Regions from separate parts of the Homo sapiens genome. Here all the other regions are linked to region 5. Evidence: promoter capture Hi-C in 16 types of primary human blood cells and fetal thymus (Javierre and others, 2016). All regions are on one chromosome and are shown on one strand. The core of a region is centred on a gene start or on the middle of the fragment in contact, and the rest is flanking DNA. Distances in the headings are between cores, read along the strand shown.

Region 1 (3,742 bases), core at 1,060-3,559, 820 kb after region 5:
AAAATAAAACTTATAAAAAATAAAAATTAAAAAATTAAAAAAAACTCCTCATTTCTCTCTATCTCCTATTGGTTCTGCTTCTCAGGAAAACGCTAATACCATACCCCCACTGATCGTTTCTGTCTGCTGTCTTCAGTACCTCCACAGCCCATCTTCTTGAGTGGACCCTGGTCCATTTTGACCCTTAGTTCTTCTACCTTGAGCAACTGGTATCTGTTTGCCCTAGGGAATGTCTCAGCTTTCCCAGTTTCCCCCAGCTCCAAGTTTGGTTGGCCACACTTTGGTCAGAACCGACAGGATCTGGCCTACAGAAATTCCATGAGATGGGCAGGGCGAGTCTCACCTCAAATTTTTTTTCTCAACCTCCACTTTATCAGTTCAGCCTGTCCTGAGGACTTGGAAACATTCTCTCCAATGGTATTTCTGGTTTTTGTTTGTTTGTTTGTTTGTTTTTTGAGACCAAGCGTCAATCTGTTGCCCAGGCTGGAGTGCAGTGGCGTGATCTCAGCTCATTGCAACCTCTGCCTCTGGGTTTGAGTGATTCTCATGCCTCAGCCTCCTGAGTAGCTGGGACTACAGGCGTGAGCCACCACACCTGACTAATTTTTGTGTTTTTAGTAGAGATGGGGTTTCACCATGTACTTAGATTTATCATGCCTTGAAAATGGACCATTTAAAATGTTTTCTCACATGGCTCTACAACTTACTTGTCTTGGGCCATTTTTTAATTCCCTAAACTAGAGGTTCCCAGCCTTTTTGCACCAGTGATCGGTTCTGTGGAAGATAATTCTTCCACAGATGGGAGCAGGATGGGGGGATGGTTTCATCAGTCATTAGATTCTCCTAAGGAGCATGCAACTTAGATGCAGCCCAGATCCCTCACATGCACAGTTCACAATAAAGTTCATATTCCTATGAGAATCTAATGCCACTGCTGATCCGACAGGAGGCAGAGCTCAGGTGGTAATGTGTGCATTAGGGAGCAGTTGTAAATACAGGTGAGCTTTGCTCACTTGCCTGCTGTACACCTCCTGCTGTGCTGCTCGGCTCCTGCTGTGCTTCTCGGTTCCTAACAGGCTGTGAACCAGTACTGGTCCATGGCCCAGTGGTTGGGGTCCCCTGCCCTAAGCTGTATTGGACTGAACAGACTCTTGAATTCCAGAGACCTCCAAGAACTCAGAGGCACTCCAGGAACCAATAGAGGCAATTCAACAAGTGGTACTTTATTCACTAAGGAAGGATGGAACCCATGCCAGCAGACCTAAGCCTTCAGAGTTGGTGATAAGCTTACATATGAGATCACAAAATCAAAATCCTTCAGGCTTGTTACCAGTAAAGATTTTTAAACATATGTTTTGGAGGAAAAACTGATTTGGAAGTTGACAGTTCATCTGCCCTTTTGATCTTTGTGTCAGTCTATGCTTATCTTTTTATTTCTTGGTACATTACAGAGTTCTCATTAAGTCACGCTTGGAATGCATGCTTACCCTGTGCTCACAGTTATCTTTAGGGAGGGTTTGTGGCTAGTAGTCCTCCCCAGCAGGTGAGGGCCCAGGGCAAAATACATTCTGTCCCTTCCTTCCAACTCTAAATGTTTAAGGCAAGATAAGTCATATTAAAATTACCACAAAGAACAGCCTCAAGTGGAAAATAAGACACACAATAAGATGACTTAGGAACATAAGGGAACCCAGTATCCTATAACCTGTCTGCCTCTGGTGTTGCAGGAATTTGTGGGCTGACTGTGTGTGAGTCTTTCCATTATTTTCTATTGCTCACTAACTGAGCTATTGTCACACCCAGTTGGTCACCACACAGAAGCTGGATCCAGAAATACCACTGGAGGCCGGGCATGGTGGCTCACGCCTGTAATCCCAGCACTTTGGGAGGCTGAGGCAGGTGGATCACCTGAGGTCAGGAGCTCGAGACCAGCCTGGCCAACATGGTGAAACCCCATCTCTACTAAAAATACAAAAATTAGCTGGGCGTGGTGACAGGTGCCTGTAATCACAGCTACTCGGGTGGGTGAGGCAGGAGAATTGCTTGAACCGGGAGGCAGAGGTTGCAGTGAGCCAAGATTGTGCCACTGCACTCACTCCAGCCTGGGTGACAAGAGTGAAACTCCATCTCAAAAAAAAAAAAAAAAAAAAGTCTCACTTTTGCTGTTCTTCGTGCCTGTAAGTCCATTCTTTGGGACTGGATGGGTGAGTGTCTTTCTCACAGGCAGAAACACAACTTGATATCACGGAGAAAGGAAACAAGAAGAAAATGAAGCCATGCTGTATTTTAGCTTGTGGATATTAATGTTGCTATTTGCATCATTTCCCACAGTTGTTTTGACATGAATAGTCCAGGAGCGTGCTAGGCAAGGGTTTTCTGAGCATGGTGGTGGTCGTACGGGGTGGTGGTGGGGATAAAGTGGAGAGAGAGAATATGACAGGTGTATAAACTGGCCTGAGCCACCATGTTGCACAGCTGCAGGGGGTGCTATTCACTATAGTCTAAGTGAATGGTGCTCCCTGGAGTCATGCACGGCATCATCTGAGCCTTGGAGGTTTAAGAGAATAAAGTAATCATCTCACTAGTCCAGCTGAGAAATGTCCTGGCCGACAGACAAGCAGTCCTCTCCCAGCAGCCTAAACCACTTTGTCTACTCAGTGGTTTTTCTCTCTACTCACACCACTTAATACTTCACTTCTGACACCAGATGTGTGTGGGTTTTTCTCCATACACCAAGGAATTCTCGTCAGGCACCAGCTTTGCATCCTATAATTCCATTCGATTCTGACACTATCTAGAGATAGCATCAGATCCCATGGGTTGAGGACCCAGTCCCATAAGACTGCTTTAGATGCCAGTTGCAAGCCCAAGGTTGTGATTAGTGCTTCCAGCCAATCAGCTATTGAGAAGGAACAGAGGTCCCTGCTAGGCACCCTCAAGCATGGAAATAAAGGCAAATCTTGAGTTCATTTAAGGGAAATCCTGGGAACCTAGCTAGCCCTGAGAAGTAAATGAGCAACTTAATAAGCAAAAAGGTAATAGTAGCTTAAAACAATAGCCAAGGAAGTTAGAGTCATGAGATGTTTGGTTCTCTATAGAAACTAAAGATAACATGTTAACAAATAGCCCTGAGTTGTTCTTTAGAAATCCAGACCCCTGCCAAATGGATCCACTGGCACACGGACCTCAGATAAGGGGAGAACACTGAGGACTGAACTCTGGCTGCCATTCTTTGTTCTAAATTTCTTCCTCAGGGGCCAGGAGGAAGTCACGCCCATGGGCCAGACCTAACATTGTTTTCTGATGACCCCAAGTCTTTAGATGAAGCTTTCCTTCCCTAACCAATTGCAAATCAGAAAATCTTTTAATTGACCCATGACCTGTAAGCCCTTGGTTGAGGATATCCTGCCTTTTTAGGCCAAACTGATGTTTAACCTCCAAGTATTGGTTTACAATTTTGCCTGTAACTTCTGCTTTCCTGAAATTTACCTGTACCTTTAAAAACCCTTGGCTTGCAGAGGTCAGATCTTGAGCATGAACTGCCAGATTCTCCTTGCATGGCACACTGCAAATAAATGCCCTCCTTTCTCTCACTGCAAAATCTCAGCATGGATGTTTGGCCTTACTGTGCCAGGCAAGCAGGCCCCAGCTCAGTTTGGCAACACTATAAACTGGAGTTACCATGACCTCCTCCTTGGGTTCAACTAAATTGCTAGGACAGCTCATAGAACTCAGGGAAACA
Region 2 (4,071 bases), core at 787-3,286, 610 kb after region 5:
TTGGCCTCCCAAAGCACTAGGATTATAGGCGTGAGCCACCACGTCAGCCTTAAGCACCCTTTTTAATGGTTACATAATGTTCCATCTAAGGAAGGTATATTACCCTTTACTTAACTATTTCCCTGCTTTGAGATTTTAGGGCGGTACCAGATTTCTGCTGTAATGAATATTCTTATCCTCAAATCCTTAGGAAAAATTCCTAGAAGAGGAATTGCTGAGTCAAAGAGCGGGTGCATGCTAACCACTGCTGATAGTTATTGCCTTACAGAAAGATTTTCTATGAGGAATGTATGAGCAGCCCCCCACCTGCCGTGAGCATTAGTGGACCATTTTATACAGATCCACAGCCCTTGTCTGAATCCCTTGGGACCTGATGTGTTTGAGAATTCAGGATTTCCTAGAGAAACACAGTGTGATTTCTGCATACCCTGTCAGATTCCCAGCAACGTCTAACAGATCCACAGTCTAACTCATTCATATTTCTTCAGGAAATCATGTGAACGTCCACAATAAGTGAGATAAATCAAGACCACAATGAGCCTTGTGGCAGCTCAGGGCAAGTTTTCCCATGAATAAACTTTCCATTTTCAGAGTTTTTGCAGGCGGGATTTCTGGAGGGGAACATGTGCACCAATGTCAAGTTGCTCTGCTGCTTTGCAAGGGAAATTGGCTTCGGGAAGACACGAGAAGGTAGCTCAGGAGAAAGATTAAGTCACCTGCTTGGGAGGAAAATTAGATCTGGGTTTAAATCCTAGCTTCACCTACGATAAGCTGGGTGACCCTGGGCCAGTGACTCACCCTTTCTGGGCCTCAGTTTTGTCATCTCTGAAGAGTACACCCATGCCAGAGCTGTGGAGATGACAAAGGATAAGGTGTATGTAACGCTTAGCACACACCTAAATGGCGTTGAATCGATGGCCTTCAACAACTTGCGCTAGTAAATGGCAGAGCTGGGAGGTGACAGCTTCTGCTTTTCCCGCAGTGCCAGGTGGGACCAGTTGAACACTAAGACCCTTCTCATCTGGCAGCCCCCAAAGCCAAAGCCCAGAATTCCCACTATAATTCACTCAAGCAGAAGGTCCAAAACTTTGGGTGGAAGGAAGGCCCAACAGGAACCTCAGTGGAATTTCTCTCAGTGGCCCCACATGGCTTCTGCCCACCTTGGTGGTGCTGGGGCACTCTGTCTCCCTGGCGCCCTACTTGGGTGGGGCCAAGCCCAGGCCAGCCCCACCCACATCTCCGCCGGGACCTATTTTGGTGTCCCAGTGTGTGGCTGTTGCAAATGAAAGCCTGAACAGTTTGATGCTACAGTTCCAGGAGCAGGCCAGCCCACCACCCCTCACACCCCTCCCTGGGCAGGACACCAGCAGGTCCCACAAAACATCAAGCTGCCTCATTAAGGACAGGGGCTGTCCAGCGGGAGGGGGTGTGAGAATGGGCAAAGGTGTGGTGTCCTCTGTCAGACCACAGGTGGGTGCTGTGGTGGGAGGGGAGTGTGAGGGCAGCAGGGGTGGCCGGAAGGGATACAGGTCTGCAGGGACAATGCGAGGCCTCTTTCCATCTCATCCGACTCCCACAGACCTGGGGGAGTACAAAAATCATCCCTGGGATGTTTACAAAACTTGGGAAAAAAAAAAAAAAAGAAGGAGGAGAAGGTACAGAGTGGGAAATAAAGGCCTGAAAAGGCCTCTGTGGAATCCCTGCTGTTTGCAAAGCTTCACCGACACAGATTCTAGCACCTCTGTTGCTAAAGGCTCTTTGCACTGAGAACTCTTTCTGACATGAGATTGCCTTTGCCAAGAATAATTTTGCCAGCTCTGAGTTGCTACCCACCAGGAGGTGGGGAGATGGAAATTTCCAGAAGCCCCCTATCCAATGGGGCCTTTCACAGCTCACTCAATGGACTCTGGAAAATAGCAAACCACCATCTCATCTGTTTAGAAAATACTGCAGGGGTTTCTTTAAAAGAGTTTAAAACATATTCTAGAATCCACTGTAAAACATTACCAAAGGTGTTTCTTAATTGCTGCTAATTTTACACAGCAATGACTTTATCTCTAAATGGGCCTTTCAATCTTCATCTATGTAGATATACACGTTTACATTCTTTAAATCACAGTATTATTAAATTTCATTTAGCAACATCCCGTAAACCTGTTCTCCTGGTTTGATAGTCCTCTTGTTAATTCTAATAATAGCATGCCATTTCATTGCATTCATATACCACAGATTTCTTAACCAGATTGTACAAAATAATTTTCTACCATTATAAACAATGCTGCAATGAACATCTTTGTGTATATGCTCTTTTCACATATGAGCTGCTTAAATTAATTTTCAGTCATTTGCTAAGCTTATGTTTATTGGGTACCTACTATGTATGTTAGGACCTAGGGGTAAGTGAACAGAACAGATGCAGTCTCTGCCCCACAGTCTAAATGTTCTATATTTTAATAATTTTTGGGTCTTCCTGTGTGAGGCTCAAATATATTTTTTAAAATCCTCTGAGTTTAAAATGGTAGCATTTGCAGCTGAGAAAGTATACACTGAGGGCTGCCAGCTTCAGGAGGAGATGGAACACAGAGTTTCCCGACATTGTTGGAGGTGGGGCTGGTGAACCACACCCCTCTCTTGCCTACTCATGGAGCCTGCCAGGGTCCCAGGGATGGACAGCAAAGTGGCAGCTCATTTTTACAAGAGGTAGGCTGGGGATGAGGCCGGGCGTGGTGGCTCATGCCTGTAATCCCAGCACTTTGGGAGGCCAAGGCGGGCAGATCATGAGGTCAGGAGATCGAGACCATCCTGGCTAACACGGTGAAACCTCATTTCTACTAAAAACTCAAAAAAATTAGCCGGGCATGGTGGCGGGCGCCTGTAGTCCCAGCTACTCGGGAGGCTGAGGCAGGAGAACGGTGTGAACCCGGGAGGCGGAGCTTGCAGTGAGCCGAGACAGCGCCACTGCACTCCAGCCTGGGCGACAGAGTGAGACCCTGTCTCAAAAACAAAAAAAAAAAGAGGTAGGCTGGGGAACGGGAAGCTGGGGACAATGTGCAAGGCTGCCAAGACTGCAGTGCACAAACGAATTTGCCCATCCTTCACAGGGGCTGCTGGGGGACCTCTGCAGACCTCCATCCACCCCCAACCCCAGGGCCTGACCCTCTTCACCCTTGGTGGGAGCTGGCTCCCACAGGGGAGGGATGAGCTGAGCACACTCACTCTTTCTCCTGAGCTCCTTAAATCGGGTAACTCTCTCCTCTCCTGACAGAGGCCGGGATGCTGCTCTCCTCTGGGGGCCCTTCTGCATGGACACATAGATGGAGACCTAAAGCTCATGGGCAAGGTTGGCCAGTCTCTGCTGCTTACAGCTCCCTTCCCCCACCTGACACGCACTCCTAACACTCATCTCCTCTCAAAGCCCAGCCTGGCCCTGCTGGGCTTCCAGGGCCTTGTCAGAGGTCCTTCCGGGCCAGGGAAGTCTTGGTACTGCCCGTGCAGCACCCAGGGGCTGGGAGACGGCTGGAAGTGGCTGGACGGGGAAGGGCAGGATTCTCTCCTCAGCCAGCATCTGCTTCCACCCTGGCGCTGCTGGGACTGCCATTCAGGAAGGTGGTGGATTCCGGGGCAGATGATCAGGAGGCAAATCCCGCTCCCCCAGCTGCAAGCTGATTTTCTGTCACATCATGGTGGCTTCAGCATGGCTGAATTAACTGATTGAATCCTTCCTCTGTGCCAGGCATGGCGCTGGCCTTTTGACATCTTTGCTCTATTGGATCCTCTGAGCAGCTCTAGGGTCCAGGAGCATTCATTGTTTCTCCTTCACACATGAGGGTAGATGACTTCTCCAGGATCACTATGCTAATGGGCAGTGACTGAGTTCAACCCAAAATGTGTCTGACTCCAGAGTTGTAGTTCCCAGCCTTTCTGCTTTGTCGTGTATACAGCACCTGGTAAGCCTTCCCCACCCCCTTCCCTAGTCTCTTTTGCCTTCTTTCCTGAAAATGCATGAATTGCTTTCAAAACCACTTCTTGCATTAACAAAGAGGAAATAAAGAGGTTCTCAAGATGTCTCTG
Region 3 (3,694 bases), core at 954-3,453, 580 kb after region 5:
TCCAACATAGAAAAAAACAAAAAGAGTGGCCGGGCGCGGTGGCTCACGCCTGTAATCCCAGTACTTTGGGAGGCCGAGGTGGGCAGATCACGAGGTCAGGAGACCAAGACCATCCTGGATAACACGGTGAAACCCCGTCTCTACTAAAAATACAAAAAAATAGCCGGGCATGGTGGCAGGCGCCTGTAGTCCCAGCTACTTGGGAGGCTGAAGCAGGAGAATGGTGTGAACCCGGGAGGCAGAGTTTGCAGTGAGCCGAGATCGCGCCACTGCACTCCAGCCTGGGCGACAGAGCAAGACTCTGTCTCAAAAAAAAAAAAAGAAAAAAACAAAAAGAGCAAAAAAGACTAGCGCATCTGTCTGTGGGCCAGCCAAGGGCGGCTGCAGGTCAGGAGCTCTAATTAAGCAAGGTGCAGTGGGTGGAGGGGAACTTGGTGTCCACTCAGCCACAGTGCTGTTTTCATGTCTAACCTTGATTGAACCAAGCTTCTCAGAAAGCCCAACCCTAATGGAAAATAAATTCTGCTGAATTCGAATGGAGCCATTAACGTCTCCCTTCTCAGGTCTTGAAACATTTATTTGCTTTAAAATACACGCACTCATCTCAGTTCTATTAGGAGTCAGAGCCAGCTTTTGCCTGGGAGCAGATTTATCTCTGCCCACACCCTCCCACCCCCTTGCTGCTCTCCTCCCCAGGCAGGGCTGAGCCGCAGCGGAGAAGGGACAGGGGCAGAGGCCAGAGCATCCCAGGGGCTTCCCTCCTCATCAGCTCATGGGAGTTGCCTTAGTACCACCCTGCGGTGCTGAGTCCTGATGGGCCCCAAGCCCCTGTCCCTCCAGGAGCTTCCTTTATGATCTGAACAAGTCCTACTCTCAATGATTGGAGAAAAAGTTTTTTGTTTTTTTTTTAAATTTGAGACAAGGTCTCACTCTGTTGTCTAGGCTGGAGTCCAGTGGCCTGATCGTGACCTCCTTGGCTCAAGTCATCCTCCCACCTCAGCCTCCCAAGTGACTGGGACTACAGGCATAAGCCACCATGTCTGGCTAATTTTTTAATTTTTTATAGAGACAGGGTCTTGCTCTATTGCCCAGGCTGGTCTTGAACTCCTAGGCTCAAGCAATCCTCCCAGTTCAGCCTTCCAAGATGCTGGGATTACAGATATGAGCCACCTGCCTGGCCCTAGAGAAAGATTCATAATCCAGTGTCAGGAATTTGTTCCAAATGCTGGCTTCATCATTTGAGGAAGCCTGTCTTCCTCCATGGGTCTTAGTTTCTTCATCCATTTGGAAGGACAGGCTGGATCTGCAGTTCCCAGGGGGGTACTGTCCCTATGAGGTGTTTTGGAGATCTTCCAGAGCATCTCTGATTATCACAATGATTAGAGACACCATTGGCTTTCATGGGCATTGGCAGGCAATGCCTGGGACAGTCTTGCACAGCAAAGAACTGCTTCATGTCCCATGTGACTTTCAAAAACCCCACTGCACATTCCCATACCTGTGTGACTTTGTGAAGTCACTTTGCTTCTTCATACTTTTACTTTCCTCTTTTTTTTTTGAGATGGAGTTTCGCTCTCGTTGCCCAGGCTGGAGTGCAATGGCACGAACTCGGCTCACTGCTACCTCTGCCTCCTGAGTTCGAGCGATTTTCCTGCCTCAGCCTCCCAAGTAGCTGGGATTACAGGCATGTGCCACCACACCCGGCTAATTTTGTATTTTTAGTAGAGATGGGGTTTCTCCATGTTGGTTAGGCTGGTCTCGAACTCCCGACCTCAGGTAATCCGCCCGCCTCGGCCTCCCAAAGTGCTGGGATTACAGGTGTGACCCACCGTGCCCAGACTACTTTCCTCTTCTTTAGCTAAGAAGTATTGTTCTCAAGGCTCAGGCCAGGTTGGGCAGTGTAGGAGTCTATGAGAGGAATTCAGATAAGTATGTTCATTCATAACAAATATTTCTTGAGCACCAACCAAGCACTGGGTTCTGGGTTGGATGCTGGGGATACAGCACTCAGTCAGACACATGTAGTTCTTGTCTGCACAGGGCTCATAGCCCAGTGTACTCAAATCTGTGATTCTGGAAAGGATGTTATGCCCCTTTAATAATTAACACTCAGTCTCTATTTATGTGGCCCCATTAGGTGCTGGGCATGGAGCTACTACTAGAGATTCAGAGATGAAGGGCAGTAGGCAAGTAAACAGCAAACCAGAGGTGGTGGAATCCATCCTGTAATGCAGGTTGCATATTACAAGATGAGAGCTACTATTTGTCACATACTTACTATGCGCCGGACCAGGAGAGGGACTTTTGTTGTTGCTGTAGAGACAAGGTCTTACTCTATCATCCAGGCTGGAGTGCAGTGGCACAATCACAGATCACTGCAGCCTCCACCTTCCGGGCTCAAGCAGTCCTCCCACCTCAGCCTCCTGGGTAGCTGGGACTACAGGTGCACATCACCATGCCTGGCTAATTTTTTGTACTTTTTGTAGAGATGGGGTGTTGCCACGTTGCCAAGGCTTGTCTCAAACTCCTGGGCTCAATCGATCCACCTGCCTTGGCCCCCTAGGCCAGCTCACGAGAGGGACTTCACATACACGATGTCATTTGAGCCTCACAATAACCACATGGAGTAAGCCAGCCTGTGTGTCACTGTCACAATTTTTGCCATTTCCACCTGCTACCTTTTGTTATTTACTTGACATTTTTCTTTAACCAACTTGCATAATTAAACCAATCCTTGTCCTAAGTGATAATATCTCTGAAATCATAAGGCTGATGAGGTTTTTGTGTGTGTGTATTTAATACTTTGTTGTGGTCTGAATGTGTGTGACCCCTCAAATTCATGTGTCAAAACCCTAAACCTCAACGGGATGGTATTAGGAGGTAGGGCCTTTAGGAGTTGATTAGGTCAGGAGGGTGGAGCCCTCATGAATAGAATTGGTGTCCTTATAAAACGAACCCCAGACACACATACGTGATGGAATACTATACCATATTATACCATACTATACCAATACTATACCATACCATAAAAAAGAATGAGTTCATGTCCTTTGCAGAGACATGGATGAAGCTGGAAGCCATCCTTCTCAGCAAACTAACACAGCAACAGAAAACCAAATACCACATGTTCTCACTCATAAGTGGGAGTTGAAAAATGAGAACACATGGGCACAGGGAGGGGAACATCACACACCAGGTCCTGTTGGGGGAAGGGGGGCAAGCAGAGGGAGAGCATTAGGACACATACCTAATGCATGTAGGGCTTAAAACCTAGATGATGGGTTGATAGATGCAGCAAACCACCATGGCACATGTATTCCTATGCAACAAACCTGCACGCTCTGCACATGTATCCCAGAATGTAAAGTAAAATAAAAATAAATAAATAAATAAATAAACAAAATTTTTTCAAAAAAGAGACCCCAGAGAGCTCTCTAGCCATCTTTCCATCATGTGAGGATGCAACAGGAAGTTGACAGTCTACAATCTGGGAGAGGGCCCTCACCAGAACCCAACCCTGCTGGCACCCTGATTTTGGACTTCCAGCCTCCAGGACTGTGAGAAATAAATGTTGCTTAAGCCACCCAGTCTATGGTTCTTTGTTAATAAAGAAATACCTATAAAACAAATATGTAATACATCAAGAAAGCATACCTATAAAACAAATGTGTAAGAAGTGAACATTTTAAACTGT
Region 4 (3,948 bases), core at 704-3,203, 560 kb after region 5:
GCTACCAACCCCGGCATGTGAGCAGAATTTCTAACCAAAACCCCTACCCTGCAACAGAGAGGCGTATCCAAGGAGACTGGCAGGTAAATGCGAACACGATAAATCAGGATCTTGATGCTGCATTCTTATTGCCTTTTTCCTCTGAAGGGACTTCTGTGCTGTCCTCTCAGCAGACTTGTTACAGATGTCATCAAACCTTGGGTGGCACCTGAATGAGAATGTCACCCCATGTAGTTCCAGAACTGTTAGGATACAATCCTCTTATTCTGGAAACCCAATTCCAGCTCCCTGCTGAAGATCTGGCTTGGTTGGGAGGGAGGGAGGAATCAATACTACCGCAGAAGGATCTCTCGACTCTTCCTTTCTGTGCAGCTTCAAAAAGACTATTTTAAAGATATTTGCATATGCCTTCATTTTCAGGTCACTGAAAAGATTCTACCTAACCAAGCATAAGAACTTAGTCCACTTATAAGCCCAAAAGACAAAGATGGTGGCAATATTTTTTTACAATGGTTACTGTCAGAAAATTGGAGTTGAGTGTCTGGAGTTGAGCAGAGGAAATTCACATTTGAACTAACAGTAAAAGAAATAATAAATATTCTTGGCCCTCAGCTCATATTGTAGGCATTGGATCATCCCTTCTCTGACTCTAACATCAAGTTTACAAGGTTTTTCCTTCTTTTAATTCCCCACCTGGCCGTGGTACTGAAACTTTTAGTCTGGTGCAGGGAGTGTCTTCACCACCATATGTCACTGCTTTGTCATTGATAGTTTCTTCTACAGAACTTGTGTAAATGAAGAAGCAATTGGGAACTTCCAGTGTGTGTTCTGACCCTGCAAGTGGGCCACTAGTGGTATCCTGAGCCCTGAAAACCTGTAACCTGACAATATTGCTAGTTCTGGTGGAATATGTTATTGTATACATGTTGCTTAAATTAAAGCCACCCTCACTGGTATCTCATCAAAACCAGTCAGCCTACTGTGCATTCTAGAGGATTTCTTCTACAGAAAAAATGCAAGTGCATTGTCTCAGGGATAGGACCCATCCTCAATACAATTAACAGTCTCATTGGGAAAAATTTCAAAATGCAGGTGAACACATCGACAAGCCCTTGAACTGCATGGCAGCGGGAGGAGGTTGGCTCTGAAGTCTAAGCAAAGATGTGCAACATTTAAATTACCTGAGAAAATCCTTTAAATGCTCATCAGGTACACAGTCTTCCTCCTGCATCTCTACAAAGGGCTAGCATGATTAGTTTTCCCTCCAATACTGGGGCAGATTTCTGTTTCTTTGGTTGTCCCCAAAGATGAAACAGCAGGCTTGTACTTGGAAGATATTTCATATAATGATGTATCTTTTAGGCACTTTAAGTGCAGAGGCAGGATGCTCACACCACACAAGTTGCATGGAAAGTAAGACTGGGGGAACAGTTGAATCTCTTCTCTCCCTCTGGGATGTAGACTCTGGCTTTTTACCTGTCCTCCATAAACATGTGGAACCACTGCTCATTTTACCCTGCACACACTGTGGTTTTCCACTTGCTAACTTGATCAAGGATGCCTTTCTCCACAGTCTCTCTCCTATTCAGCTCATGTGTCACCTCCTCCACGAAGCCTCTCGAATCAGCCTCCCTTGCAAAGCTGGGTTATATGACCCTCTGTATCCCACAGGATCCCGTTCGTCTCTCTATCATTATGCACTATTTCATTAGAGAGTTTCTGTTTCTGCCTCATTACACGGTGAGCTCCTGAGGACTGTAGCTGCGTCTCACTCAACTCAACATTGCCACATATATTGGCGTCTAGAAAGTGCTGGGTAAATGTTGAGTAAGTAAACAAATGGTTGGCTTTAAAGGATGGCTAGGGTTGAAATAGACTGATAGGGTATTCTGGGCAGGAACAAAACTATGTGCCTGGCACAGAGTAAATTTTCAAAAAAAGGAAACTGCTACTATTGTTTGTAGTGCTTTCTGGAGAAATGGAAAGACTGATAAGGCCCCAAAAGCACTTCTTGAGTGGAAAAATCAGATCCAGCATGGTTTTGTTTTTTTTTTTTTTTTTTAGAAAGATCTGCTAACTGTCATGATAGTGACATGGGGCCAGCTCCCTCAGTGAGGTTACTGAAGTCATTGAAGACTCACAGACTGGTGTATGTCAACAGAAGGTGGGCAGAACCAACTTGTAGGGACTCAGTTGCCTTTCCCTAAGCCAGTGTACAAACAGAAATGCTGATTGATTTTCCTATTCACCACAGGAATCATAGCTCCTTTTTGCAAAGTAGACCCATTCGTTTCTCCCAGGCAGGTCTTCAAAGGAGGCTCTAAATTTGAGAGACATTCGCTCAGTCATCAAATGATTGAAGTGGCAGGGATCTGTGGTTCTTGAGAAACATTCCTATTCTAAGGCCAGGTGCAGTGACTCATGCCTGTAAATCCCAGCACTTTGGGAGGCTGAGGTGAGAGGATTACTTGACCCCAGGAGTTCAAGACCAGCCTGGGCAACACGGTGAGACCCTCACCTCCACAAAAAAAAAATTAAACAATTAGCCATGTGTTTGTGGTGCACACTTACTATAATCCCAGCTACTTGGGAGGCTGAGGTGGGAGGATCGCTTGAGCCCAGAAGTTCAACCAGCCTGGGCAATGTAGTGAAACCTCATCTCTACAAATTAAAAAAGTAATAAGGTAGCTTGAGGTAGTCAGAAAGAACCTCTCCTCATCTGAGAGGGTCAACATTTTTTTGTGTGTTTTCTCTGTCTCTGCTTTCTGTGAATATCTATGCCCCTTACACCCCTTCTGGACTCTTCCTTTAGGCATATTAATGAGTTAGTCTTGTCTTAATTGTGCCTAGGAGCCATTTCCAGGTTAAAAGAAAAAAAGACCATGTCTTTCAGGAGTTTACCCTTGTAGGAAACACAGACTTGTAAAAATAATTTCAAAATAAGGGAAGTGCTGCAGGAAAGCTGTCTTTGGAACCAGAAAGAGGGGGAAAAGGGAAAAAGAGTAAAATCAAAAGAGCTGGGTGTGACTAATACTAACATAAACCAAAAATAAAATTCTAAGTCCACAACTGGCCAATGGACCCCACCCTCTTGGCCAAGGGCATTCCAAAGTTAACCTGAAAAGCTAGTTCAAGCCATGATGTGAAGTGAGGTTCAGACATGCCTCATTATACCCTCCTCCCATTGGAATTTAGGCACAGCTGACTAGCATTAACATAAAAAGAGAGACCTTAATACAGATAGACTCTTTTACGTCTGATCAGAAATATTCTCTTCTGTTGATTTTATCTGCATAATGGGAAACTTGGTCACCACAACCCCTTATCTTAACCCAGACATTCCCTTCCACTGATTCTAGGTCTTTAGATAATAACTCTTTCAACCAATTGCCAACTAGAAAATTCTTGAATCTGTCTATGACCTGGAAGCCCACTCCCCCCAGAGTTGCCCCCCTTTTCCAGACTGATCTTATGCGTATTGATTGCTTGATGTCTTACGTCTCTGTAAAATGCATAAAACCAAGCTGTAGACTGACCACCTTGGACACATGTTCTCAAGATCCCCTGGGACTGTGTGATGAGCCACTGGTCAGTCATATTTGGCTCAGAATAAATCTCTTCAAATATTTTACAGAGTTTGACTTTTTTCATCAACACTGACTAGGCGGACTTGGGGGCCTTGGAAACCTGAAGCCTAATTAGGCAGATAAGAGTTCAAAGGAGAAGACAGATTCCAGGACATATTTTTGGACAGAGTATGAACTGAGTGATAAACCAAATTGTGGATGGAAAGGAAATTGGAGAAAGTCAATGATAACCCTTGGGCTGCCCCTGATAAATTCTGCTGCCTCCCAGGTGTGGAAGAATTGGTGATGAAGGTAGAATTTCCAGAAGATATATTTGCCTAAGGCTTCTGGGTACTAGAAATGCCTGAATCTAAAGCAACTA
Region 5 (3,906 bases), core at 1,214-3,713:
TGTTTTTATTGAATTTTTGCCTTTTTTTAATATTAAGAGTGAATTACATAGAGGGCATTCGTGTAATAAAGTCTGAGTGTGGGACATACTTATGAATGTGCAGTACAGCAATACTACAGAATAATAAAGAGAACTGGCCATTATGCTGTATTCTAAGTAATATTTATCATTTAAATAATTGTGTCCAATTCAATGGGATGTGGTTGTGGTTTTCCATCCATATATATTAAGTTTGAGGCTCAGTAACCTCTAAATAAATTTGCCATGGAGATTAACAATTGTTTTTGACTTCCCAAAATTCAACCCACAAGCAATTTTTCACGAAAAAGTTACCCTCTTAAAGTAGAGAAATAATGTAAGAAGTTCCATTCTGTGTACTGACTTTATCATGTAAATCCCAAGTAGGACTTGTTCCACTGGACTATCTGTGGTTTGATACCTGACAATGAAGGCAGAGACCGTCCCACAGCTTAATCAGACAAAACTCAGCATTAGAGAGGGTGAGAGAGGGGAAGAGGTACTTACAGGGACTCCTCTCTATCCGAACTGTTTGAAGAGTGGAGGTCTTTCTGGACTTAGGTTGGGAGTTGATGAGCAACCTGTCCCATATACCTGAAAATACAGACACACAAACACCCTTAATTTACTACAGCATAAAAAAACAAAGGCCCATCAGTAAGCCTCTCACATGACCAGTCTTAAGACTTGACTGTCCACACTCCCCCAAAATTTTTTTTTTAAAGGAGAACTCCAAGCTCCATTACAACATTTTAATTCTTTATGTACAGCCAGCCACCTCTCCTTTCTTACATCTGTCTCATTCACCTCTATCACCAATGGCAGGTAATAAATGCACACCAATCTGCACTTTTCTGGATCAGAAATTCATTAGCAGACAAACGTGGGTCTGCAATGACAGAACGGAGGAAACAGTACAGAGCATAACAATGGTTAAGTGAAGCCAGAAATGGTTACTAGTTGTGTAACACTGGGCAACTTACCTGATCTTCAAGCATTTGTTTCTTCATTAGTAAAACATGCTTGCCTGGTATTTCCCCTTCCCTGAAGACGTTCAACCCAAGGAAAGCAGCCTTTTGGGGATTTTGTCACCCACTCTACCTTTCCAGCCTCATTTCTCACTACTCAAATCATCCCAACTCTCTATCCCATCAGAGTTCCAAGAGGGGAACGTACAAAACTCAAGGCTTTGCACACCCTATTTCTAATACCCGGAAAATCCCTTAACTCTCTGGTTAAAAAACAAATCCTGTTCACCTGCAAAGCAGAGCCGCAACAAACATCCATTGAATGCCTACTACTTAAGGCCTACTGGATTCGTGATCAGAGCACAGAGTCTGGAGCCAGACTACTTGAATTCAAGTCCCAGTTTTGCTACTTTCTAGCCACATGATCTCCAGAAGGTAAATTACCTGTATGATAAATCATGTCTCAGGTTCCTCAACTATAAAACAGAGATAACAGATTTTCTGCAAAGGGTTGTTGTGAGGATTAGATGAGTTAGTTTCTGGGGCATACATAGTAAGGACTACATAAGCTTTGGTTATCATTATTATACTTCCTTCGGAATCTCTGGGTTCTCACAAAACCTTTTCTTCAAGCTAGTATTTACTGACAACATGCCCAAGCCTTTTTAGGCATTCTCCTCCTCACAAAAATTCTACAGGCATTACTACTATCACCATTTTCCAAATGCAAAAACTGAGGCTTAGGGAATGAAAATAACTCTAAGTCCCACCAGTTAATTACTAGTGGAGCTGGGATTCGAACTCGTGCTTTTAAATTCTACCTATAGTGTCTGAAATGCTGTGTGGATTTCCTGGATGCATGTCTCCCTCTACAAGACAGCAGCACTAAGGGGTGGTCTGTGTGGGTGTGAAAGAGGTAGGGACTGTTAGCATAATATTACTCCGCTTCCCCCTATCAGCCAACTGCTCCGACCCAGGCAGCCAAACCAAAAGCCCTCCCTTCCCCAAAAGAACTCGAGAGCTTCCCAGCTTCCAGGGCAGGGCAGATGCCTGGCAGCGGCGCCTGGCAGGGTGGGCGCTCACTACCTTGCAGAATATAAGAACCACTAGCTGGGGAAACCATTCCGGGCCCGCAGCCGGGTGCCCGCCCCAAAGCCCCCACCCCTGCCGCGGGCAGGGCACGCCGGAGCCCCGCAGCAGTCCCCGGGGCTCCCCTCGAGGGTACGGAGCCCGGGCAGGGAGCCACCGGCCGGCTCCCAAACTGCACCGGCCGCGCCTCCTCTGCCGCACGTGTGCGGCCCATGCCGCCGTCACCCGTCCGTCACCTCCGCGGCCGTCGCTTCCCGCCGTCAGCAGCTCCTTGGACACTGGGACTCCTGAGGAATCCCGGGTGGGCGACGAACAACTCGGGCTAGCCTTGGGCTTGCCATGGACCTCCATGCTTCCCTCAAGCCTGCACTCTCAGGCCCGGATGCAGGAAAAAGGCTCGGGTAAGGGGGCGGGGAGAGGGCCGCGATTGGAGGAAACTGCGGTGGGCGGAGTAAGGAGCGGAGAGAGAGGCGGGGCGAGCGTGGTGCAGCCTGGAGGCTGCGCGGGAGCAGGGGCCATTCCTACTCCTGGGAAAAAGAAAGGTTCAGACACTGTCATAGGAAAAAACAGCGGGCAAGGCTCGATTTCGCCAAATTCGGGCATAAAGAGCATAACATTAGGCTTCCCTCCTCTTTATCCTTTTTTATTAAATTTTTTTTTAATTGGTGAAAAAACACGTAACAAAATCTACCATCTTAACCATTTTTAGTTGTACAATTCAGTGGTGGCAGACCTCTAGATCATTTTCATCTTGCAAAACTGAAACCTTATACCCATTTACCCCTACTCCAGTCCCTTGGTAACCACCATTCTACTTTCTTCTTTGTTTCTTTCTTTTTGAAACAGCCTTGCTCTGTCGCCCAGGCTGGTGCCTCAGCCTCCCAAGTAGCTAAGATTACAGGTGCACACTACCACGCCCGGCTAATTTTTGTATTTTTGTATAGAGACGGGTTTTCACCATGTTGGCCGGGCTGATCTTGATTTCCTGACCTCGGGAGATCCACCCACCTTGGCCTCCCAAAGTGCTGGGATTACAGGCGTGAGCCATCATGCCCAGCTACCATCGTTCTACTTTCTGTTACTATGAGCTTGACTACTTCAGATACATTATGTAGGTGGAATCATACAGTACTTGCCTTTTTGTTACTAATTTCACTTAAAATAATACCCTCAAGGTTTAGACATGTTGTAGCACATAACAGGATTCTCTTCTTTTTTAAGCCTGAATAATATGCCATTGTATGTATATACCACATTTTCTTACCATTGATCTCTCAACAGGCGTGCTGGTTGCTTCCACCTCGTGGTCATTGTGAACGCTGCTGCAATGAACATGGTGGTACAAATATCTCTTAGAGACCCTGCTTTTCAATGCTTTGGGATACATACCCAGACATGGGATTACTGGATAATAGGGTAATTCTACTTTTTAGGTTTTTGTGAAGCCTCCGTATAGTTTTTCATAGTGGCTGCACCATTTTACATTCCCACAGTGCACAAGAGTTCCAATTTCTCCACATCCTTGTCAATATTTCCTTTTTCTGTTTGGTTGCTTCTTTCTTTTTGACAGTGAGCATCCCAGTGAGTGTGAAGTGATATCTTGAAGTTTTGGTTTGCATTTCTCTAATGATTTAGTGATGCTGAACACCTTTTCATGGGCTTGTTGGCCATTTATATATCTTCTTTGGAGAAATGACTATTCAACTCCTTTACCCATTTTTTAATCTGGTTATTTGTGTTTTTGTTGTTGAGTTGTAGGAGTTATTTATATATTCTGGATATTAACCCTTTATCGGATATATGATTTACAAATATTTTCTCCCATTCTGTA
Region 6 (3,660 bases), core at 97-2,596, 850 kb after region 5:
CCACCACGCCCGGCTAATTTTTGTATTTTTAGTAGAGACGGGGTTTCGCCATGTTGGTCAGGCTGGTCTCGAACTCCTGACCTCAGGTGATCGGCCTGCTTCGGCCTCCCAAAGTGCTGGGATAACTTTTTTTTTTTAAAGGGCTTTCTATGTATACATTATCCCAAACAACCCTGAGAAGCAGACATTTGGCCAAGATCACAAGCCTGTAAGAAGGGGAGTTGGAATTCAAGTCAGGTTGTCTGATGACAGTGGCATTGCTACTTACTCCTCTTGTCACAATTTGGGGCTTTCATTTGTCTTTTCTTCCATACTTGCCGCAGAAATGTTTAAATACTCTGAGAAACAGTAGGAACTCTATAAATAAAAGATCTCTGTATTTTTACATAATCAAAGCTGGAGAGTTTAATGTGGTGCAGGCCACTCGGTTAGTGGAAGCAGAGGGCATGCCATCCCCAGCTCCGGTTGCAGTGAGTGGATCCAGTGTTGGATTACCCACCTCTGGGATGGTCACTGCTAAGCGAAGCTGAACTCAGGACTGCAGTTTGAGAAAGACAGCGAAGGAGCTTGGCTGCACAGAGGCAAGAACGGGCCACGGATTCTTGCAGCCAAAATGTCATCTGGTTGGGAAAAGCCGCTTGTCAATCTGCAGCTACTAGAGGGGTGGGGGTGGGTGGAAAATGCAGCATCTTAAGTTCAAGATTCAGGGTGAAGGCTGGCTAGACTTAGCAGGGGTCTGCATCTTTAGATGAAATGTGAAAAACACCCAAGCTCAGGGACCAAATGACAGGGAGCGCTGTGCATGCGGCGACGCTAACAGGGACCCAAGGAAAGAAAACACGAGGCGCTGAAGGCGCTCCAGGAGGCCCCCGCCGTTCAGACCCTCCCGGTGGCTCGGGCGCGTCGTCCTAGGGGGCGGCTTCTGTCCTTGGTTTCCCCTTCTTAAAAATCCAGGCGCAGGCAGGCTGAGCTCAGGCGGCTGAGGCACCTCCACGTGGCGGGGGAAGGGGTGACAAAGAGAGGGACGCCCGAGAGATCCCGCTTCGCACAGGCCCGGGTCAGCACCGGGAAGGAGGCCCGCCTAGACCCGAACGGCGCGCCCGGGCAGGGCCCTGGAAGACCTCGCGCCTAGAGGAGCGGCATCCGGAGCGGCGCGGAGGCCTCACAGGAACGCGGGACTGGGCCGGGGGCGGGGCGGGGCCGGGGGCGGGGCGGGGCGGGGCGGGGCCGCGGCGGGCGGGCGCGCGGGCGGCGCGGAGGGAGGGTGTCGCGCCGAGGGAAGCGGCCCGCGGCGGAGGGAGGGGAGGCCGAGTCCTGGAAGCGGAGCTCCGCGCTGGGACTGGTTCCTTCGCAGCCATTTTCTGTCCAACCAAACAGCCGATTGGAGACGGGAGCCAACCAGGGCTGCATTGGAGGTTTGTGTCTCGCTTCGGCCAATGATCGCTCCTAAACCGACTCCACTTTAGCTCGAATGAAATGTCCGTCTCCTCCCGGCGCCGTCCCCGCCGCCAACGCCGCCGCGGCCGGGGGCACTAGCCTCCCGCCCTCCCGCGCGGGCCGAGGCCGGGCCCCGCGCCTGCGAGGCCGCTCCCGCAGCGGGCCGGGCCGGGGAGCGGGCGCGGGGCCGCGGCGCGGCTCTTTGTGCGCCGGGCTGAGGAGCGGCGGGACGCGGGCCAGGCCACCTCACCCTCGCCGCCGTTGAGCTCCGGGCCCGGGGCCGAGGAGGGGCCGCGGGGCTGCGTCGGGGCCCCGCTCTCGACGGCGTCCCGGGCCGGCTCCATTTTGTGCGGGGAGCCGGCCGAGGGGCGGGAGACGCGGCCCGGGCCCTGGCCCCGTAGCCCCGGCGGCGGCGCGAGTCCCCGGGGGCGCCCTCCTCCCGCCCGCGGGGCTGTGGCGGGGCCCGGCGCTTTGTCTGCCCGCACATCCCGGGGGCCGCGCGGCGGGTGGGAGGCAGGCGTTGGGCGCGGGGCCGGGGCGGCCGGGCGAGTCAGGGGATGCGCTCTGGGGGCGGCCTCCTGGCACTCGCAGGGCTGACAGGTCGCCGGGACCAGGCCGTGGGGCCGGGGCCACCCAGGCACCTGCGTGGGGAGGAAGGCATGGCTTTAGCTTCCCCGCAGCCTGGTTTGCGCGTAAAGAATGCAGCCATCTGGCGGTTTGCGGTCCCTGTACTTGCCCCGAAGGTGGGAAGGAAGCCCTTCGGATTGGACTAAGGTTTTAATCATTAGTGGTGGGAGGCGGGAGGATATGCAGGGCCTTAAAGAACGGTAGTCTTAGAGAACAAAGAATTACAGAGCACCCACAAATCGTAATCTCGCCCAAAGCACTCTAACAGGATAATTTAAACAAGGTTAGGTAGCCTGCGACCTTTAAAAAAATGGCATCCCACTAACCCGCATGGACCCCATAGTTGCGTGGTTCGTGCTACAAATCACTGGGGTGGTTTCATCTCTCTTAGTATGGAAACTAATCAGCAACATAAAGTGATGAAAGCAAACGGATCAATATCAGTGGCACTAATCAGTGGGGGGTTTATTTGTAAAGTATTGAAAGTTTAACCAAAATTCCTTAAAAGGCAAATTATTCCTTCCCTGCATTGCTCTTGTATCTTAATTTAAGGATTACTGTATATTGATGCAAAACTCTGGTTGTTGATGCCAAAGAATGGAGGGTGGAGGAAGGGACTACTGCTTTTCTTGGATACAAATTTGCATTTCTTAAAACATTAAACAGATGTATGCATTCCCTTGAGCTTTTACATATATCAACCTGCCCTTAAGAAAATATACACCATATGAGGTGACAGTGTTTTTCTTTAATGTACTGAGTCTAAATATATACTGAATCAACTATTTGGGTGAGTGAGTGTGGTGTGGTATGACTCCCTGCCCACACCCCCCTCTCCCATTCCAAGCAAAATACATAAATATAGCTCCCATGTTTTAAGTGTTCTGAGGGCTTATTTTTTCAAAGACACTCTTTAAAAAATAACATTTCTCGTTACAAGGAAGGACTTTTCTGAGCAGTTTTGGGGTTAGAGGATACTATTAATATTTGAAAAGAAATTATAAATTACTTTTAATATTATAGCAAACGTCAAGCAGTTTTTGCTACCTGGACCTTTTTAGTGGCATTAAAAACTTTCAATTCAGTGGCTACAATTTTTTCTGCTATTTGCTAGATTTCATGCTTGGATGCGTATCAGTATATCTTCTCCCTTTAAAATTAACACTGAAAGGATGTGTTTTTGTTTTGGCATCCTACCCCTCCCCCATTTAATTGTTTCCTTTGAGAAAGAATGGAGCAAATGAGAAATGAAACTTGTAACACAGCAATTGGTACTAATTTGTTCAGCTATTTATGCCTTACAGTGAGACTGAAGTGCTATTTCGATGCAATTTTAGTCAAAAATGGTGGTGCTTCAAAATTATAAATAAGGGTCTTGATTGTGTTGCTTTTTTGATATCTTCTCAGTGCAGAATGTATCTTCATTACAGTATAATCTGAGATTCTTAATTGAAAAGCATTATATTCTCAGATAATTTTTTCCTCCTCTTGAGCTATAGAATGTCTAAATGTTACTCTGAAACATTTAAGAAAACCATCACCAAAAAATTAAGATGATAAGGGGTGTGTTTGCATCTTGAGTGTTAATGTTTTAAG
Region 7 (3,846 bases), core at 515-3,014, 640 kb after region 5:
GTGTTAATCTCTTTCAGAAACACCCTCACAGAAACATCCAGGAATATTTTACCAGCTCTCTGGGCATCCCTTAGCCCAGTCAAGTTGACACATAAAATTAACCATCCAGGCTAGGACAGTGGCTCATGCCTGTAATCCTAGCACTTTGGGAAGCCAAGGCAGGGTGATCACTTGAGCCCAGGAGTTCAAGACCAGCCTGGGCAATAGAGCAAAAAACCCAATCTCCACAAAAACTTAAAAAATTAGCTGGGCATGGTGGTGCATGCCTGTAGTCCCAGCTACTTGGGAGGCTGAGGTAGGAGGATGGCTTGAGCCCAGAAGGTCAGAGGCTGCAGCGAGCTGTGTTCGCACCACTGCACTCCAGCCTGGGAAACAGAACAAGACCCTGTCTCAAAGAAAAAAAAAAAGTAGCCACTCACAGTGGGTATAAAATGGTATCTCACTTCAGCTTGATTTGCATTTCACTGCAATTTAATTTGCATTCCCCCTCACTAGTGAGGCTGACTTTTTTTCTGTTTAGGCCCTTTCTACTTTCATTAACATTTAAATCAATGGCTCCTGACATAACAGGAAGAAATTAAAAGGCTTCCTATATGGCCATCTCTGATAGTTATGGCTCTACCTGTCAATCCAATTACACCAATGTTCTAAGTGCTTCTGTAGTGCCAGACCTTGTGCTAGAAGCTGTGGGGCACACAGAGGTAAAGAACCCTCATTATCTAGTGGTGGTGACAGAAACACACACTACACTCCATGCAGAGTAATTCAAAGAGCTCTAGAGACAATACAGAGTACCCTGGGAGTAGAGGTAGAGAACCAGCTGGAAGTTACGCAGAGCAGGTGACCTTTGAGGGAGGCTAGTAGTTATATGGGGACATAGAGCAGGTGTAGCCAGAACAGGCAAGGGAAAGCGCAGGCTAGAGCTGCAGATAACAGGTTCAGGGTCTGGCAGGGGACTGTGGGTCTAGTTACAGGCCTTGGGAAAACCTCAAAGGCTTGAGACAGGGAAGTTCAGGCAATAAGAGCCTGGCTCTAGTGGGAAGTAAACTGGCGGTGGAAAGTCCAGTTAGGAAAGTGTTAGAACATCTCAAGACAAGGTATTTATTAAGCGTGTAGACAGCATTGCTTGACGGCATGTGAAAATGTGAAGTCCCAGGAATTGATGCAGCAGACCTAAAAGCTTCCATTTGTCAGAGATGAATGGGAGGCTGCACTGCGAGGTAACTAAGAGGTAGCGCCTTTGAGGTCACAGACCCAACTCTGGCCTCAAAAACGTGATGCATTAACTGGCTGTGTAATCCTAAGAAAGTGACTTACACTTCTGAGCCTGTTTCTCCATCTATAAATGGGTACAAAAGCACCTTCTCTAATAGGATTGTTGTAAGGATCACATCAGCCAGGGTGTGTCAAGCACAGTGCCTGCACGTGTTGCAGTAAACACTCATTTAGCTGTTGTTATTACTAGCACCCTGCAACTACTTACCACAAAAACAAGTACAAACTGGGAAGGTTTTTGGTAAAGATTACATAAAAGAGGAGTTTCTGCTTAAAAAGTGATACCTAAGAAGATTAAGTGCATGTGAATGCATAATCTGAACATGGTAATCAACATTTCTGGAAACATTTATTGACCATCTATGTGCCTGATACTGCCAGAAGATGGGAAATGGCAATGAACTGATTAGTTCTTCTATACTTAAATCAGCATAGCATCATTGGAGCCTACTCAGCAGCTAGCTTTTCAACACAATATCAGAGATCTACTCAATACTCTTGCAAAGACTCCCAAGACCATCATTCAGTAAGAAGGCACACGTGGATATTATTAATGCCTTTTAATTTTAATGTTTCACATTGTTTTGTTTTTTTTCAGAAGATTTGTAACAAAAATACATGGAACTTAGTATATGTTTCAATAAAATGGGTAAATACAGAATCTGAACAAGACAAGTCTATAAGATATAATCCTTCTTGTGGGGATAGAACATTCCACTCCACTAAGAAAAGAGAATCACAACATGATTAGGCCTGATTATCTCATACCGCCTACTGTTCTAATTTCAGAGACTGGTGGACTTGGAGAAAAAAACAAATTAAAAATAAATAAATAAAACTGAATATGGTCAACTGCCTCAATTGCTCTCTCCTTTTCCCTTTTCCCATTTCTTTACACAGCCAAATGAGATGAGGACGTGAGGCAGAGCCCTGTGGGGGACGGTCAGGGGCTCTGCTGCCTAAATGCCAGGCAGATGCATGGGTTCCCTGAGGTGGCCCAGAAATGTATTTTGACCACTCAGTGCTGCAACTGAGAAATACAGGTAGAGTAGCAGGAATGAAAAAGAAGCTTCAAGAACTGCTGGCAGGAGGCCTGATGTCCACAAGCACGTGTTCAAAACTCAACCTACACAGTTAGAAAAGACAGCTGAGATAGAATCCTCAGCCAGTACATTGACAAACACATAACTGAGGCATTAATACCTCTTTATAATAATGCAAGTTGAAATGCTAACAAAGCATAAACACTTCTGCAAAAATTCCACAAGGCACAGTTGTTCATTCAACAGAAAAAGTCAAAACCACTTGGTTTTTAAATGAAAATCCTTCACATCCACCTGTGTTCAAAATATTAATAATAACTTATGATATTAATAACTTCCTTTAAAAAGCAATTACCACAAAACAGCTAAATCATAAGCATGAAAAGACTTATTTTCCTACTAATGTAGTCTTAGAAAGAAATAGATACCCAATGTCATTATTTTTTTTAGCATAAAGCTAAAGCTACCAGAAAAACTTTTAAACAAGTTACGTGTTTTCCATTGCAAATGATCTCAGCTTGCTTAGACCAGCACACAATAAACTAAAGACAGAAAGATATGTACTGTTTCTCCCCCATTTCTGGTGTATGTCTGCCTCCATGACAAATAATGGTGAGAATCATACTATACTACCAAATGCCAGGCAATGGCTGGCCAAGTAGCCATTTCCCTTCCTAAACAGACCTTAAAATAATAATCATCCATCATGTAGCACACAGGGGCAAATTTGGCTAGAGTTGATCGCAGATGTACTTGTTTTGGGAATATATGAGAGAAGAAACTGCTGAGCAGGTCAGTAAAGAACAGTCCATTTCAGCTGCAGGACAGTTCTCTTTCCCGGGACAAGCCTACATAGCCTCCAAGGGAGCCAAACTATCCCTTCCATGCAACAAGACACCTTGCATGGATACTCTAGCCATGACTTGCTTTTGGACAAAAATCAACTGCTAACGTTTTTCATCTCTAATATCATTAACACCATGGAGAAAAAAGAAAAAAATTCAACCCTAGAAAACTTGACAACGAGAATAAGAAAATCCACAAGGAAAGGTCATGCTAAAACTGATTTGACAGTTGTTCCATCACCGCCTACCACATGGGCTTGAGACTGGTGACTTCATGGATGCATCCCTTCGATGCCCTGCCAAATGTCAGCTTCAAGTCTGTCAGTGACCCCAGTGTGATGCTGCCTGCCTTCTATTCACCAACTCCTATCCAAGAGATCCAAGGGGGCCTTGGGCGGTGGTAAGCACAGGACACGCAGGTGCCAAGAGCCCAAGAACCCTCTAGAAAACTTCGCCTTGGATTTGGGCACGGAAACGAGCCAGTGGTTTGCAGTCTTGGCAACAGCATCCACACTGGGGCTTAACCTCAGCAGCCAGCCTGGAGGATGCTTGCCCCAGAGCGCTTGGTCACAGACAATGTTGTGAATACCTGCAGGGGAAGAGAAAGCACAACATCTTCAGATGCCTGAGCAAATGAGGTAACAGGGAACAGTTCAGATAATGCCATATGCATTAAAACCATC

Evidence for each region. The method cuts DNA at HindIII sites, captures the fragments that hold promoters and counts their contacts. A CHiCAGO score of 5 or more calls a contact.
Region 1: a fragment that was not itself captured here is called in contact with the fragment with the promoter of NOPCHAP1 in region 5 in 4 of 17 cell types (non-activated CD4 T cells, total B cells, activated CD4 T cells and 1 more); the score reaches 8.5 in non-activated CD4 T cells.
Region 2: a fragment that was not itself captured here is called in contact with the fragment with the promoter of NOPCHAP1 in region 5 in 16 of 17 cell types (naive B cells, total CD8 T cells, total B cells and 13 more); the score reaches 11.5 in naive B cells.
Region 3: a contact is called between a fragment that was not itself captured here and the fragment with the promoter of NOPCHAP1 in region 5, in 3 of 17 cell types (neutrophils, total CD8 T cells and monocytes). The highest score is 7.2, in neutrophils.
Region 4: a contact is called between a fragment that was not itself captured here and the fragment with the promoter of NOPCHAP1 in region 5, in 10 of 17 cell types (naive CD8 T cells, naive B cells, total B cells and 7 more). The highest score is 8.7, in naive CD8 T cells.
Region 6: the fragment with the promoter of NFYB here is called in contact with the fragment with the promoter of NOPCHAP1 in region 5 in 3 of 17 cell types (non-activated CD4 T cells, naive CD4 T cells and total CD8 T cells); the score reaches 5.8 in non-activated CD4 T cells.
Region 7: a contact is called between a fragment that was not itself captured here and the fragment with the promoter of NOPCHAP1 in region 5, in 2 of 17 cell types (activated CD4 T cells and naive B cells). The highest score is 6.5, in activated CD4 T cells.

What each region holds. Positions count from the first base shown.
Region 1 is chr12:104,165,480-104,169,221 of GRCh38, reverse strand. No RefSeq gene overlaps it. Among named protein-coding and RNA genes, the nearest start is that of LINC02385, 2.6 kb to the left of the region's middle. The HindIII fragment of the contact is 2,041 bases long and covers 1,289-3,329 here.
Region 2 is chr12:104,372,365-104,376,435 of GRCh38, reverse strand. No RefSeq gene overlaps it. Among named protein-coding and RNA genes, the nearest start is that of EID3, 71 kb to the right of the region's middle. RefSeq lists enhancers at 810-1,321, 2,884-3,639, 3,640-4,071. The HindIII fragment of the contact is 638 bases long and covers 1,718-2,355 here.
Region 3 is chr12:104,401,976-104,405,669 of GRCh38, reverse strand. No RefSeq gene overlaps it. Among named protein-coding and RNA genes, the nearest start is that of CHST11, 53 kb to the left of the region's middle. The HindIII fragment of the contact is 3,430 bases long and covers 489-3,694 here.
Region 4 is chr12:104,421,900-104,425,847 of GRCh38, reverse strand. No RefSeq gene overlaps it. Among named protein-coding and RNA genes, the nearest start is that of CHST11, 33 kb to the left of the region's middle. The HindIII fragment of the contact is 5,119 bases long and covers 1-3,948 here.
Region 5 is chr12:104,984,873-104,988,778 of GRCh38, reverse strand. It overlaps NOPCHAP1 (NOP protein chaperone 1), which reads right to left and starts at 2,463. Exons shown (of 4, transcript NM_152318.3): 1 at 2,312-2,463; 2 at 526-612. The coding sequence starts at 2,426. LOC105369952 (a long non-coding RNA gene) reads left to right here and starts at 2,409. Exons shown (of 2, transcript XR_007063436.1): 1 at 2,409-2,476. RefSeq lists a silencer at 1,984-2,233 and enhancers at 1,786-2,296, 2,297-2,809. The HindIII fragment of the contact is 4,173 bases long and covers 1,558-3,906 here.
Region 6 is chr12:104,135,896-104,139,555 of GRCh38, reverse strand. NFYB (nuclear transcription factor Y subunit beta) reads left to right here and starts at 1,346. Exons shown (of 8, transcript NM_006166.4): 1 at 1,346-1,415. RefSeq lists enhancers at 609-778, 1,602-2,193, 2,194-2,787 and silencers at 1,163-1,462, 1,513-1,612, 1,713-1,792, 1,853-1,982. The HindIII fragment of the contact is 8,431 bases long and covers 1-3,660 here.
Region 7 is chr12:104,348,259-104,352,104 of GRCh38, reverse strand. TXNRD1 (thioredoxin reductase 1) reads right to left here. Exons shown (of 17, transcript NM_001093771.3): 17 at 1,798-3,752. The coding sequence ends at 3,684. Among named protein-coding and RNA genes, the nearest start is that of EID3, 46 kb to the right of the region's middle. The HindIII fragment of the contact is 1,164 bases long and covers 1,183-2,346 here.